Regions from separate parts of the Homo sapiens genome. Here all the other regions are linked to region 3. Evidence: promoter capture Hi-C in 16 types of primary human blood cells and fetal thymus (Javierre and others, 2016). All regions are on one chromosome and are shown on one strand. The core of a region is centred on a gene start or on the middle of the fragment in contact, and the rest is flanking DNA. Distances in the headings are between cores, read along the strand shown. Region 1 has its middle 41 kb from the start of MAP1LC3B2. Region 2 has its middle 4.8 kb from the start of LINC00173. Region 3 holds the start of MED13L (mediator complex subunit 13L). Region 4 overlaps MED13L (mediator complex subunit 13L). Region 5 has its middle 60 kb from the start of LINC02463.

Region 1 (2,700 bases), core at 34-2,533, 320 kb after region 3:
CCAACTCTTTTTCTCTTTTCCGTCCCCGTATTGACAGGAACAGCTGTCTTCTTTTTAAAAGGGCTACTTCCATCTCTTTCATTTTATTGTTTCCACGTCTTTGATTGTTTTGGAACAAGTCCGATGGTGGAGACGGAACAGGGAGATCACGAAGACAGCCTCTCCTTTAAAAAATGACCATGATCTCACGCCTCCTCCCAACCCAGTGGAAACTGGAGCACCGCTCAAGGAGACGCTGCTGTCACAGGATCCTGCTTACGGGCACGAAAGCTGGGAAATTTCAGAGCCAATCTGGGCCAGGGGAGGCTGGAGCTCGTGAGCTGGGCTGGAAATGATTCTTCCAGACTGCAGAGAAGACAGTGGCCTGCCCGCCGGCCGGCCTGCCTGCCCTCCCCGAGGCCAACAGGAAATCCCAGAATTTATAGATGACCCCGTTACAAGGCAAGTGTTTTGGAACAAATTGTTCTTCTTTTAAAGCCTTGTTTTCCACTAGTTTTTCTTTCTGGAGTCCAACCGCAACCCCCACGCCCCCCACCCCGCCCCACCCACCCACCCTTTCCACCTTCCCGGTGTCCTTGTTAAACCGGGGCCATGGCGCCACCTGCTGCCTGTCGTGGGCAGCGGGACTCTGCCGGGATCCGGTCTTGGGTCCTCCCCCCACCTCCCTTGTCCCAAAATGGGTGGGAGAGTGACTTTCTGGCTCCTGTCCCGAGGAGGGTTTGTATAAAGATCACGTATCAAGCCTCAAGAGAACTGCTTCCGTAGTTACGTGACCTAAAGACTCATGGCAAACTCTTCCCCCGTCACTTGTCCTCCAGGAGAGCCAGAGCTGGCTGGCAGAAAAGGCAAGTCAGATGGCATCACCATCCAAGGCCAGGTCTCCACTCCCTGAAAACCAAGTATGCCAGCTTTGAACAACCATGTCAACCCAATGAGCCTTGATTTCTTCAGTACCCTCTGTAGCCAATTTGCTAGGTGGTATGGAAAATGGATATGCGTGTGCCTGGCCCATGGAAGGGGCTTAATCAACGTCTGCATCCTTTCTCTCCTATTTGGAATATTCCTTATTGGGAAGGAATAGCTTGGAGGGTCTTAGAGGTGAAGGCCAGACCTCAGAAAACTGGTATATTTATCTCCTTATAAGAATGTAAGCTTCAGCACTTTGGGAGGCCAAGGCGGGCAGATCATCTGAGGTCAGGAGTTTGAGACCAGCCTGGCCAACATGGAAAAACTCCATCTCTACTAAAAATACAAAAATTAGCCAGGCATGGTGGTGCACACCTGTAATCCCAGCTACTCGGGAGGCTGAGGCAGGAGAATCGCTTGAACCAGGAGGTGGAGATGGTAGTGAGCCGTGTACCACTGCACTCTAGCCTGGTCAACAGAGCAAGATTCTCTGTCTCAAAAAAAAGAGTAAGCTTCAAGAGGGTAGGCCACCCCAGTGCAGATAACAAGCCTCAGCAAAGCAGTAAAGGAGCACAGGCTTGAAGTCCTTACACCCCAGCACCCGCTCAGGAGCTAAGTGACCTTGGGCAAGCTCAGTGTCCTTACTTGTGTCTGGGGATAGTAATAGTAATCATACCTCAAAGGGTGGCTGTCGCGCATTGAAATGAGAGAGGGCACGTAAATAATTTAGCAATGGGACTTGTAGGTAGAAAGTGTAGGATTGTAGAGACAACTCTAGCTATAATCATTATTATGAGATGACCACAGTGTCTGACATATAAGCATTTAATGAATATCTGAAAAACAAATGAATGAAAACCTCATAGAAAATAGGTCAGAAGACTTTGCTTAGTTCCATTTCAGCCACCAACTTGCTATGAGACATGAAATACCCCTGTGCCTGCTCTTCCCCATCCAGAAACCTTTCTTTATTGAGGATAAGACTCTCTGATCGGCACCTCAGTTTTCCCACCTGTCAAATGGGCACGACATTCATCTTACCTGTTGCTCAGAGATATGGAGGGGATCTGTTGAGGCATGTATGTGAAGCTGCTTTGAAAAGTTTAAAGAGTAGGCTGGGCATGGTGGGCTCATGCCTGTAATCCGGAACTTGGGAGGACAAAGTGGGAGGATCGCTTGAGTCCAGGAGTTTTAGACCAGCCTGGGCAACATAGTGAGATCTCTCTCTACATAGAAAAATACTTTTTTAAAAATAAAATTTAAAAATAAAGAGTAAAGGAAGGAAGGGAGTCTTTATTTTCTTTTAGGGTGGTTCCATGTGTCTGGTGGCTTTGCCCTTCCCTGAACGGGTGCCTGGGGCTCTCTGGAACAAATGGTGTCCCTCCTGACACCAAGTGGTAGTCATATCTGAGCCCCAACTCACTGGCAGCAACATCTGGTGAGTCTGACAATACAAACCCTAGGCAAATTAACTCCTTCACTACTGGCACAAGTTGAGCACACTCCAAGAGTGGGTTTCCTCTCTAGAAAAGCTCTTTTTCCAACCCAAAGGGCATAGGAAAGTGCATGGTGGGTCTCAGGCATGGTGACTAATTGGGGTGACTCACAGCTAGAGGGAGGTGGATCAGGAAGCAAGACTCAGGCCAACTTAGGCACTGTAGAGAGGTGTTTCAATCCAGTTCAGTGGGCCCTGGGGAGCCATAGAGGAGTCATAAGCAGGGGAGAAAGATATCCAGAAAGAGACTTCAGGCAACACCATGAGGGGTAACTGACAGCTAGGACTACAAAGCTCAT
Region 2 (2,700 bases), core at 72-2,571, 260 kb after region 3:
AGAGCCAGCACACCCGGGCTAATTTTTGTATTTTTAGTAGGGACGGGCTTTCGCCATGTTGGCCAGACTGGTCTCGAACTCCTGGCTTCAAGTGATCTGCCCACTTCAGCCTCCCAAAGTGCTGGGATTACAGGCATTTAATCACTGCACCCGGGTGAGCCACTGCACCCGGCCAAGTTCATATTCTAAAAGTGAAACATTAATGCTGCATTGTGTATTTTTTGGTCAAGTGCTTCAGATGTGTGGAAGGAATTTCTTTGTATAAATGCAATTATTCGTCACCATGATGATAATTATAACGAGGGTGACTGCACAGAACTGTGCCTCCCCAGCAAGCATGGGCTGGGCAGGGCCGGGTATTCCCTTCGCTGACTTGCTTCACTAGTTGACTAACAGACCTTATTCCCGGGCCTGAGCTGATGATATCCTGCCAATGCCAGCTTCCCAACATGGAGGGGACGCAAGAGCGAGCGCCATGGGATCCTGGGGGAAAAGCAGCCTGTGTTTGCTGCTGCTTTGACAGTTGAGGCTCTGAGAGGGACTGGCAAACAATGGGAAATGAAACATTTGAGTGGTTGCAAAAAATTCCATGGGAAATCCCCCCTGGTGGTATTTATGTGCGACGGCTGTGACAAGGAGAGCGCAGGGCTTTCGATTTCAAGGGTTCCTGAGCAGACCACAATGGCCTTCCAAGATGGCAATCCCCGGGAACAGCTCTCTCGGCCACAAAAGGCCAGTTTGTCTGTCCAGGGAAGATCTGGCCCCATGCATCAAGTTGGCCATGAGCTGCAGTGTCTTCTTTGGGGCATGACCCACATTTATAGGGTCTGGGCCTCTGAACCTTCTGCTCCTAAGACAGATCTATCTCAGTTGTCCCTCTGGTTTTCCCAGGCCTCAAGGACCTGGGGGCTGATAGGGGCTGAGGGGTTTCCCTCGGGCTCAGCCTCCATCTGCAGAACTGTGGGAACCTCAGCCTCCATCAGACCCCTCCCCATTTTCTGGTCAGCACGTGGCCTCCTCCTGTTTCCTCCATTCCCGTTGGTAATGGACATTTATTTAACTTTTACTCCCCCTCCATTCTCATTTAGAAAAGAAAGTGAACTGATATTAACCAATCTTTGTTTTGCCTTCTTTAACACTAATGCATATGCAAAATAGTTACCACTATTGATAATATCTTATTGCTGCTGTGATATATGTGTGTATATGTACAGATCTGCTTGAAGGTAAGCTTTATATAGATTTTTAGAGATACTTGGTAAATGAGAAAATGGAAACTGAAAGAGGTTAAATAAACTGCCCATGTGTATTGGTCATGAGGTTTCAGTTGCAAAGTGACAAAATCCTGACTTAGATGAACTTAAACCGGATGGAAAATGTACATTGTATTATTTGAGAAGCAAGGTCTGGATAAGCTTCAGGCATGGCTGGATCCAGGCCCTCAGTTAAGTCTTTAGGAATTTCCCTCTCTCTAGCTTTTTGGCTTTGCTTTTCCCTGTATTGGTTTCATGTTTAGATTGGCTCACTTCACCTGTTTTACATCTTTCCAGAGTCAAATCCAGCCTTTTTCCTGGTTGCCTCCATAAAAGTCCCAGGGTTAGGTTTAGTGTGCTCTGATAGATTCAGCTGCCCATTGCTGAAGCAGTGACTCTGGCAACAGGGATGGACTGATCTAAGTGCCCAGGTTCCAGTCACTGCTGAAGCCCAGCCAGACCACCTGGACACAGTAAGAGTGAGTGGTTCCCCCAAAGAAAACTGGGGTGCTCTTACCAGAAGAAGGAGGAATCGACAAAAAGACCTGATGTCCTAAACTCCCGTGTCACACTGTCACTAATGGGCAGGCAGACCCATACAGCAGCTCCTCTGCATCTTCATGCTGCTAGAGACCACCACCGGGACCACCTCCCTCCTCCATGCTCTATCCTGCCCTGTGCCTCCAGCCCCGCCCCTGCTGCAGGAATTCACTCTAGTCAGTAGTTTTCAAAATGTGCGGGAAGGAGGAAGCCAGTGGAAGAGAGCAGGTGGCTGGGTGACCTGTGGCTATGGGATTCCCCTCCTCTATTTCAACCATCCAGCAATTCTTGTGTCTCTTTGTAGATTCAGTTTCCTTGTACACTTTTATTTAAACAAAGGACACCCCAGATTTTTTAAACTTGCAAATCAGCAATTTTTCTGGAATCTATGTCTACTTACCCTAAATTAAGGAACAATAGCTCAGAAAGAGGCAGGAAACTGACAACACGTCAAATGAGTGCCAAGGGGATCTGAGAAACCACACCTCCCGATTCCCATCTCTTGCCCTTTGCACCCACGGCCTTGCAGATGGGGTCAAGATTTGTGGGCTTCTGATTTATTGGCCAAGGATGCAGACCTTAACATGTAAGTGGAGCAGCTTCCCAGAAAAGAGAAGGAAGAGGATACCTTTGCACAGTTTTTTTCTAGTCTCTGGGTTCTGTGCCCCCAGGGCAGGCAGCCTCTGGGGACTCCCTGTAGGTAGGATCCTGCCAGAATGGAGAAAAACATCCCAATTCCTGTTATTCCCTCCTGGTCCTGGGAGCTTACATCACCATTCCAGGAGAACTTACATGAGCAAGCCATGTCATGCTTCCGTTTAGGAGGATGTTTACAAACCACTATTCTGTCCTCTGAGTGTCTGGAAAGCTGGTGTCTGTGTACCAGGCCCTGCAATGCATTTCAAAC
Region 3 (2,700 bases), core at 111-2,610:
TGTGTGTGTGTGTGTGTGTGCGGATTCGTTGTTAGGATAGAGAAAAACAGTTTTTAAAAGACACAGGAGGAGAGAAAGAAGAAAAAGCTTTCTCCACCTTCCGTCGGCTCGGTGCAATGGCTTTACGGCTCTCCAGCATAGTAAGCCCCGAGAGGCAGGCGGCTGTCGATGTTTACAATCGCGGGAGCTTCGGGTGCAAGAGTCCTTTCCTGACACAATCGCATTCAATCAACTATTTTAGGGCGAAATTGCAGGTGTCATTATGGAATTTAAAAAAATTCAAAAGGCAGGCGGGCGGGCAGGCAGCTGATCCAACAACGGGGGAAGAGGTTGCCGATCGGAGGCGCGGCAGCACAAGGCAAAGCCTTCCACATTTACGGGGGGAAAAAAAGGGGGGAAAGGGGAGGAGAAGGGGAGTGCGATTGCAACAGAGGGTGGGCGTTCGAAGTGCGACCCAGAATCCGCAGCTCCGAGACTTCCACATGCAAATTCCACGCCGAGCGCCGCGCTCACAAATGATTTTTAAAGAGCCAAATAAACACTGGATGGGATCCAAGGCGAGAGAGAGACGATCCAAAAGGGGGAGAATCGGCGAGAGGCGAACGGCGGGGAGACGCGAGGGAGGGGCGAAGTCCCGGCGGCGGGAGGAGAAAGTTGGTCGGCGGCGGAGGTCGGGGACCCCCCCCCTTCCCCGGCACAGCCCCCTCCCCGCAGCCCGGCTACTCACCAGCGAAAAGAGGTTGGAGTGACAATCCTCCAGGCTCGCCCCGTTCGCCACCCAGTTCGCTGCCGCAGTCATGATCCTCCGCGAGCCCGGCCGCCAGAGCGGGGCATGTCGGAGCGAGGCGTCCGAGGCGAGGCCGGGCCGGGCGGCGGCGCCTCGCCGGGGAGCGCGGGGCGGCCGGGCCGCCGCCGCCGCCGGGGGAGGGCGCGAGGGCCGGCGGGCAGGCGGGAGGCGCCGCGGCGACGCCGCGCCGGGGGCAGCGGGCCCGGGCTGGCGGGGGGGGCGCGCGCCCCGGGCCGGCGCTGCGGGCCGGCCACCGCCTCCGCCTTCCCTGCTCCTCAGCCGCCGCCGCCGCCGCTGCTGCCGCTGCCGCCGCCTTGTTTATCTCCAGCCACCGACTCCCCCTCGGCCCCCGCCGGCGCGCGAGGGGAGGCGAGCCCCGGAGCCGCCGCCGCCGCCTCGGAGCCGCCGCCGCCGCGGAGCGCGAACTCGCGAAGGGGGGGGTGCGGACGAAGCCAGCGGGCGACCCCGGCAGCCGAGCGACGTCCCCTCCTTCCTCTTCCTCCCCCACCCCCCCCTCCTCCCCAGTCAGCCTCGCTTCTCCTCCCTCCCCGGGCTCGCTTGCTCTGACAGCAATGGCGGCCGCCGACCGCGGCTCGGCCCGCCATTGGCTGGCGCTTGGTCACGTGACGGGCGCCGGCCGCGCGGGGGGAGCGAGGGGCGGGCGGGGGAGGGGTCCGGAGTGGCGGCGGCGGCGGCGGCTCGCGGGAGGCGCTGCTGAGCTGAGCGCGGCCGGGTCCTCCGGCCGGGAAGAGGGAGGGAGGGAGGCAGAGAGGGAGAGAAAGAAGTGCGGGCGGCCGGGCTCCCCGGCGGGCGGCGGACTGCCGGCCCGTGGCTGCCGTGGGCTGCCCCTCGTGGCCGCCCCGCCCCCTCGCGGTGCACTGATCGTGGCGGGGCGGGACCGTGGGTCCCGGGCGCGCCCGTGGTGGCCGCGGAGGAGGGCGCGGGACCCCCGGCCTGTGCCCTCGCAGCCCAGGCCGGCTGGCGTGGCGCGGCGGCCGCGATGTGGGCCAGGCAGCGGGTCCGAGTGCCCTGGGGAATGTGTCCTCAGAGGCTCGCGCCGCCGTCCGCCTTTTGCAGAGGAGAAAACTAAAGCACAAAGGGATTAAATCACTTGCCCGAGGTCGCACACTTGGGAAGAGGAGTCCAGATTCGAACCCGCGCACAGTGAAGCCAAGCTCTTGGACAAGGTTTCACAGGCTTCGCCCAGGGATATTCACGGCTGCCATAGACGGAGCGCTTACTGTGTTCCAGACACTGTGCGTTTAATACAGAAATGTTTATTGAGCCCTTACTCCTAGTTACTGTGTGCACTCATTCATTCATTCATTCATTCATTACATAAATGTTTCCTGAGCTCCTGCTGTGTGCCAGAATCTGTTATAACTTCCAGGCACTGTGCTAAGGCCGTGTTGGGAGCAGACCCTTCTTCCTGGCGTCATTCATTGGATAACCAACATTTCCTGAGTGTATATGGCCTGGGAGTCCGGAGGAGTGCTGCTATGAAGAGAAGCTCTCCCAGTCCTCAAGAAATGGATCCCCGAAAAGGGGGAGGAGAAAACAATGTCTTCACTAATACGCCTCCAAACATGGAACAATCAGCTGTTTCAGGTAGATTAAGCTAAAAGAGGAAGAGTGGATGGCTGGCACAGTGGCTCACGCCGGTAATCCTAGCCGAGGTTTAAGACCAGCCTGAGCAATGTAGCAAGAACCCCCGTCATGACAAAAAAAATAAAATACAAAAATACAAAAATTAGCCAGGCGTAGTGTGGCATGTGCCTGTAGCCCTAGCTACTCGAAAGGCTGAGGTGGGAGGATAACTTGAGCCCTGGAGGCAGAGGCTGCAGTGAGCCCAGTGAGCCGAGGTCGCATCACCGTACTCCAGCCTGAGTGACAGAGAGAGGCCCTGTCTCAAA
Region 4 (2,700 bases), core at 45-2,544, 270 kb before region 3:
GACTCTTAGTTCTGCTGATCTCCAAAGAATTATAATAATTATTCTTCTCTGTCATTTTAATTGTATGCTGCCTTGTAGTATTTAACTTCTATGTATATAAATTCTATTCCCCTACAATGATGCCATGATCTTAAAAAGTATAAATCATATTTGCATACCTAACCTCTGACTTATTAGATGAATAAAAAGTTATGTGGGCATTACTTTAAAAATCAAACCTAAGGGACAATGTAATACATTTCTAGTAGTCCTGTGATATTTAGAAGAATTTATTACAATAAATGTGAGAGATTTTAATATGTACAACTGGAATACACTAATGAAAAAGATCCTTCAATGAACAAAACTCGAGGTGGATACACTACACTAATAACCTTTACAATCTTTTCCAAGTATACAAACTTTTTTTATACAGCATGACTAGATTCCAGTATACAGACATTTATAAAGAACATTCAGAACCTGAAATAAGAGCCCCCAAATTCAGGACACCAAACTATAAAGAAATACTACAACACTGATATAAAGTCCTTTCATGTAGCGAAATTTTTGTTTATGTAGCTACGGCAAACTCACCCCAAGTTCGTCGTCATCAGAATTATCAAAGATGTTGTCTAAGTCATGCAGGGAAGGTGCCAAATCTGTTACCTGTGTAAGGCTACTGGAGCCAGCTCTGCCAGCAGCATTATCCTGCCGGACATCTGTAGGAAAGGAGGCAAAAGACACAGAATAAACAACTCCACCAAGCGCAAAGGAGTAGGGAGAGGACACGGATCTCAATGAACATGACCTGCCTGTGAGTTTTTCCCTATGGTTTTAGTTAAATTTAGAGACAATTATTTCCAAATATGTTTATCAGTTTTGAAAGGAACTGAAAAACAAACTATGAAAAATATATTAAAGATGAGATGAAATTCTTATTACAATAAGAATAAAATTTTACATTGAGAAGCATCTCCTTTGCATTTCATTTTAGCAACAATCCAAGTGAGGCAAATAATCATTGTACACACCTGTTTTAGTAGCAGAACTGAAAATAGACATGGCATTTTTCCCATCAGGCACCGGCGTGGAATGACCTGGTGTAGTGACATCCTTGGTACCAAATCCATCCTCTGACTGTATAATAAATTCAGCCAAACAAAACACATGAACACCAACCCAAAGTGTGAAATATGAGGGAGAACACAAAGAATTAGAGGGTAGAATGGAACTTGTTATGAGCACAAGTATGATAAACCATGGTCTATGCAACCAAAGGAAGTAAAAGATAGGTCCTTTCTCTGGAATTTCAACAGAACCATGAGCTCCCCACTTTCCCCTCAATCCTATGGGGTATTCTGAGTGAATCAGTGTTTTATGCCTAAGCAGTACTGGTGGCATTTGATTACAGACCTGCCATGGTGTTAAAAGCTGCCTTTAACAACATTTTAGATGCTAAATTATAGATTTGGCTTTCTGGGTCTAGGGAGATCTGTATAAAACAATCTAAAAAGCATTCCCCTAACTATACCGGCCTCTTATAATTGTTTTATTTCCTTGATTCTCAAGAATACCTATTTCAATGGCCCATATTTTAGAATGTCTGAAAATTTGAAATTAAAGACAGCAGACACAACCAGTACTCATTTTTATGATGATGAAACCAGTAAAATTAATACTGATAGTCTATGGGTAGAGTTGATATTAACCCAGAGAATATATAGGTACAGCGCTCAGCACAGTAAGGATAAGAAGCGCTCGATAAATTGTGTATACCTACTGTTACAAACATTTTTTCCTTTACATTTTGGGTAGTTCGGAATAATATTTTAAAAGAAATAGGGAGCATAGGCCAACAAGAATTAGCATATGAGAGAAAACATGCACTGTACAAGCTATAGCCTGGAAAATATGAGGCTTCATTTATGTTCGGCTGACTTTTAAACAAAGGTGAGCCATGACATAAAAAGGAACAATACGCTGTTCAATACAATAGTACCAAGAGCATGAATATGGGGACAGAGCAATCAGGCAAGACTATCTCAAACGTTCTGCCTCCAAAGTCTTCCCACACATGTTGTACTGACATAGATAGAAACCCACACCATGCTGGACTCTCTCTCTGTTAAATGGTACCTTATTCTTTTTCAGGGAATCTTTCTCCGTCCCTTGTTTGCATTTCTTGTTGGCTGTAAAGATGTATTTTATGTCACCATCTTCAAAGGTATATGGGTCATTCACTTCTCCCAAACTGTCTCCAGGTTGTTGTGATAGAGGCAATGGGTCAAGGAAGTGGAGTGGCTGCAACTGGGGCTGTTTGTCTTGCCAGATTTTAAACCGTTTGTTAGGTTGTGCTAAGAGTCTAAAAGACAAAAAAAAAAAAAAAAAAAAGAGCATTTATGCCTTAAAGCATTTACAAAGTTTAAACTTTTTGTAAAAACAACTAAAAATTCACCGATATAGTGATTTGCTTTTACAGTTTATATTCATGATTAAATAAAAATTAGCATACTTTGTCAAGAATATATGTTTTTGTCTCTGGGTCCATCAATTCCACTTAAGAGCACAGGTTCTCAGGACAGACTGCCTAGTTTCAAATTCCATCTGTGTCATTTACTAACTGCATGGCCCTAGTTTCTCAGTTATAAAATTAACGTAATAATATGGTACAGTGAAGATTAAATGAGATCATCTATGTAAAGTTTTAGAATGGGTGGC
Region 5 (2,700 bases), core at 49-2,548, 330 kb before region 3:
CTCAGTGGACAGTATTGCTGCTTTCCCCGACATCGTGGACGCCCACAGGCAGATGGAAAGGTCAGGAATACAGATGAGGAAAGAGCCGATCTGGCCTCAGCTCAGAAGCCTTCACAAGCTACAGAGGCCTTACCAGAGAAATCTCCCTGCTTGCTCAGTTTTGCAACCGGCTCTGGAACAAGTGACCTGTCAGGCTTCTATGCCTAGGACTTGAAGGGACGTGGAGGCTTCTTTACTTGGAAGCTGATAGCGTTTGGCTGTGTCGCCACCCAAATCTCATCTTGAATTGTGGCTCCCATAATCCCCATACTTCATACGTGGGACCCGGTGGGAGGTAATTGAATCACGGGGGCGGGTCTTTCCGGTGCTGTTCTTGCGATAGTGAGTAAGTCTCACGAGATCTGATGGTTTTATAAAGGGGGTTCCCCTGCACACTTGCACGCTCTTGCCGTGACTTTGCTCCTCGTTTGCCTTCCGCCATGATTGTGAGGCCTCCCCAGCCACGTGGAACTGTGAGTCCACTAAGCTTCTCCCCTTGATAAATTACCCAGCCTCGGGTATGTCTTTATTAGCAGCGTGAGAACAGACTAATACAGAAGGGAAGAAGGCAAGAATATCTCTCCAGCAACCCAATTAAAAATCTCAGGACAGTTCAGGCCCCTGGAGGCTTTTACTTGAGTCAAATCCTCAGGAAGGCCAGCACTGCTCCTGTAAATCACTGTCTTCCTCCTGGGATGGAAAGGGACCAGGAAGCCAGAGTGCCCAGCGTGCCAGGGTTTCACTGCCAGATGTCTAGAAGGCCACATCCAACCGAGATGCCCAATTCCAAAAACGTCCACAAGTCAGGAGGTAGAGTGGGGCAGATGTGTGGGGCTGGCCCAGGACGGGGATGTTTGTTTTTGTTTGGGGGCCTGTAGGCCTGGGAGCTATTAACAAATGCCTATTAATCTTCCTGTTGGTTTCAGGGGGCAAAATTAGAGCCAGAAATGAGTCTGGAGCTACATGGACCTAGGAAGAATATTTAGAAGCCCTGCCCTCATGAACTGGGAAGGAAGAAAAGACACCTTCCCCCACAACGCCACAGGAGCTATCAAATGTGCTCTTTTTAAAGTCATTTCTATTCTTTAAAAAAATGCACCATTGTGGTGCAGCCACTGTGAAAAGCAGCATGGCGCTTCCTCAAACAATTAAAAACAGAATTACTCTGTGATCTAACAATTCCAAAATGTGTACGGCCATGTCCATTTTAGCATTAGTCACGATACCCAAAAGGTGGAGGCAAGCCAGTGTCCACTGAAGCCTGAAGGGATCAACAAAATCTGGTATATACATGCAATGGAGTGTGGTTCCACCTAGAAAAGGAGGGAAATTCTGGCACCTGCTACACAGGGGTGAACTCGAAGACATTATGCCAAGTGAAATAAGCTGGTCACAAAAGGACAAATACTGCGTGATTCCATTCATAGGAGGTGCCTAGAGGAGTCAAGATCACAGAGACAGAAAGAATAGTGGTGTCAGCGACTGGGGAGTTAGCGTTTGATGGGCACAGGGTTTGTTTTGCAAGAGGAAGAGGTTCTGGAGATTGTTTGCACGGCACTGTGGAGCTGCTCAACCCTACTGAGTTGTACACTTAAAAGTGGTTAAGATGGTACATTTCACATTATGTGTATTTTTACCACAATTGAATTATTTTTTAAATGCACCCATTTTAAATGGATAATTCCCTGTGCTTTGACAAATATAACACCACCAACTAAAACAGAGATGTTCCTCTCACTCTACTAAGTTCCCTCATGCCCTTTTGCAGTCTGTATTATTTCTAAACATCCTATTGGATTAAAATTTAATTAAGTAGAAATGATATCTCCAATGCCCTGGGTCTGCTCCAAGCCTAAAATCTCTGAGGCTACCAGGAGCCATTTCACATGCAGGTCCCCTTCTGCCCGGGGCCCACGGGCCTTTCCCGAGGTGTCTGTGGGGGTTTACAGGGGCAGGGAGGCACCATAGGAAGGATATTTGCTTTGGCTTCTTCAAGTCTAATGAACGCCAAGGTATTGAATGTAACAACATTAAAGCTTCTCCTCCTCACACACATACACGTGCACACACACATGCACATGTGTGCATACACACGTGCGCGCAGACCCCCCACCCCCCAGCAGCTACCAGCCTCTTAGCTCAGTCTTCTATGCACTATAAATTTGCCAAGCCAGATTGCTCTTCTCAGCCACCCCTACACCTGGCACCTATGCCCAACCGGGAATCTGTCCCCTGGGGCTCTTCACCTAAACGAGGGCTGCCCTGGGAGAGTGGACTCAGACCAGCCCCCCAGGGCCTTGGCCCCCTGCTTTCAAATCCCTTGACTTTTGCCCATTAAGATTTGTCAGTGAACATCGTCCCCTGGTGGAAAATCTAGGACATAACAAATATGTATCTGAGCTTCTGCGGTATTTCCTAGAATTTATTCATTCCAAAATATTTGCGAGGGAAATAACTTTTCGGTGGAGAAATCCAGAAGACGCAGCCTTAACCAAGGGTTCAAGGTTAATGTCATCTGTAAGATGATACGATGACATCTCGAACCCTCCCAACACTAATGCATTGGGAAGGACGTTGTCACTTCCATGGTGTTCTTGTCCCAAGATGCATAACCACAATTTCACCACTAGAAAATATCAGACTAACCCAAGTTGAGAGACC

Evidence for each region. The method cuts DNA at HindIII sites, captures the fragments that hold promoters and counts their contacts. A CHiCAGO score of 5 or more calls a contact.
Region 1: a contact is called between a fragment that was not itself captured here and the fragment with the promoter of MED13L in region 3, in 17 of 17 cell types (monocytes, naive B cells, megakaryocytes and 14 more). The highest score is 23.3, in monocytes.
Region 2: a fragment that was not itself captured here is called in contact with the fragment with the promoter of MED13L in region 3 in 17 of 17 cell types (total B cells, monocytes, naive B cells and 14 more); the score reaches 31.1 in total B cells.
Region 4: a fragment that was not itself captured here is called in contact with the fragment with the promoter of MED13L in region 3 in 15 of 17 cell types (megakaryocytes, M2 macrophages, non-activated CD4 T cells and 12 more); the score reaches 11.8 in megakaryocytes.
Region 5: a fragment that was not itself captured here is called in contact with the fragment with the promoter of MED13L in region 3 in 1 of 17 cell types (neutrophils); the score reaches 5.1 in neutrophils.

Annotation. Positions count from the first base shown.
Region 1 is chr12:116,599,227-116,601,926 of GRCh38, forward strand. No RefSeq gene overlaps it. Among named protein-coding and RNA genes, the nearest start is that of MAP1LC3B2, 41 kb to the left of the region's middle. The HindIII fragment of the contact is 266 bases long and covers 1,151-1,416 here.
Region 2 is chr12:116,536,900-116,539,599 of GRCh38, forward strand. No RefSeq gene overlaps it. Among named protein-coding and RNA genes, the nearest start is that of LINC00173, 4.8 kb to the left of the region's middle. RefSeq lists an enhancer at 486-715. The HindIII fragment of the contact is 184 bases long and covers 1,230-1,413 here.
Region 3 is chr12:116,276,333-116,279,032 of GRCh38, forward strand. MED13L (mediator complex subunit 13L) reads right to left here and starts at 1,361. Exons shown (of 31, transcript NM_015335.5): 1 at 728-1,361. The coding sequence starts at 799. RefSeq lists silencers at 1,190-1,659, 1,710-1,769. The HindIII fragment of the contact is 4,130 bases long and covers 86-2,700 here.
Region 4 is chr12:116,005,293-116,007,992 of GRCh38, forward strand. It overlaps MED13L (mediator complex subunit 13L), which reads right to left. Exons shown (of 31, transcript NM_015335.5): 11 at 2,119-2,344; 12 at 1,014-1,119; 13 at 577-701. Among named protein-coding and RNA genes, the nearest start is that of LINC02463, 120 kb to the left of the region's middle. The HindIII fragment of the contact is 5,074 bases long and covers 1-2,700 here.
Region 5 is chr12:115,944,918-115,947,617 of GRCh38, forward strand. No RefSeq gene overlaps it. Among named protein-coding and RNA genes, the nearest start is that of LINC02463, 60 kb to the left of the region's middle. The HindIII fragment of the contact is 1,549 bases long and covers 525-2,073 here.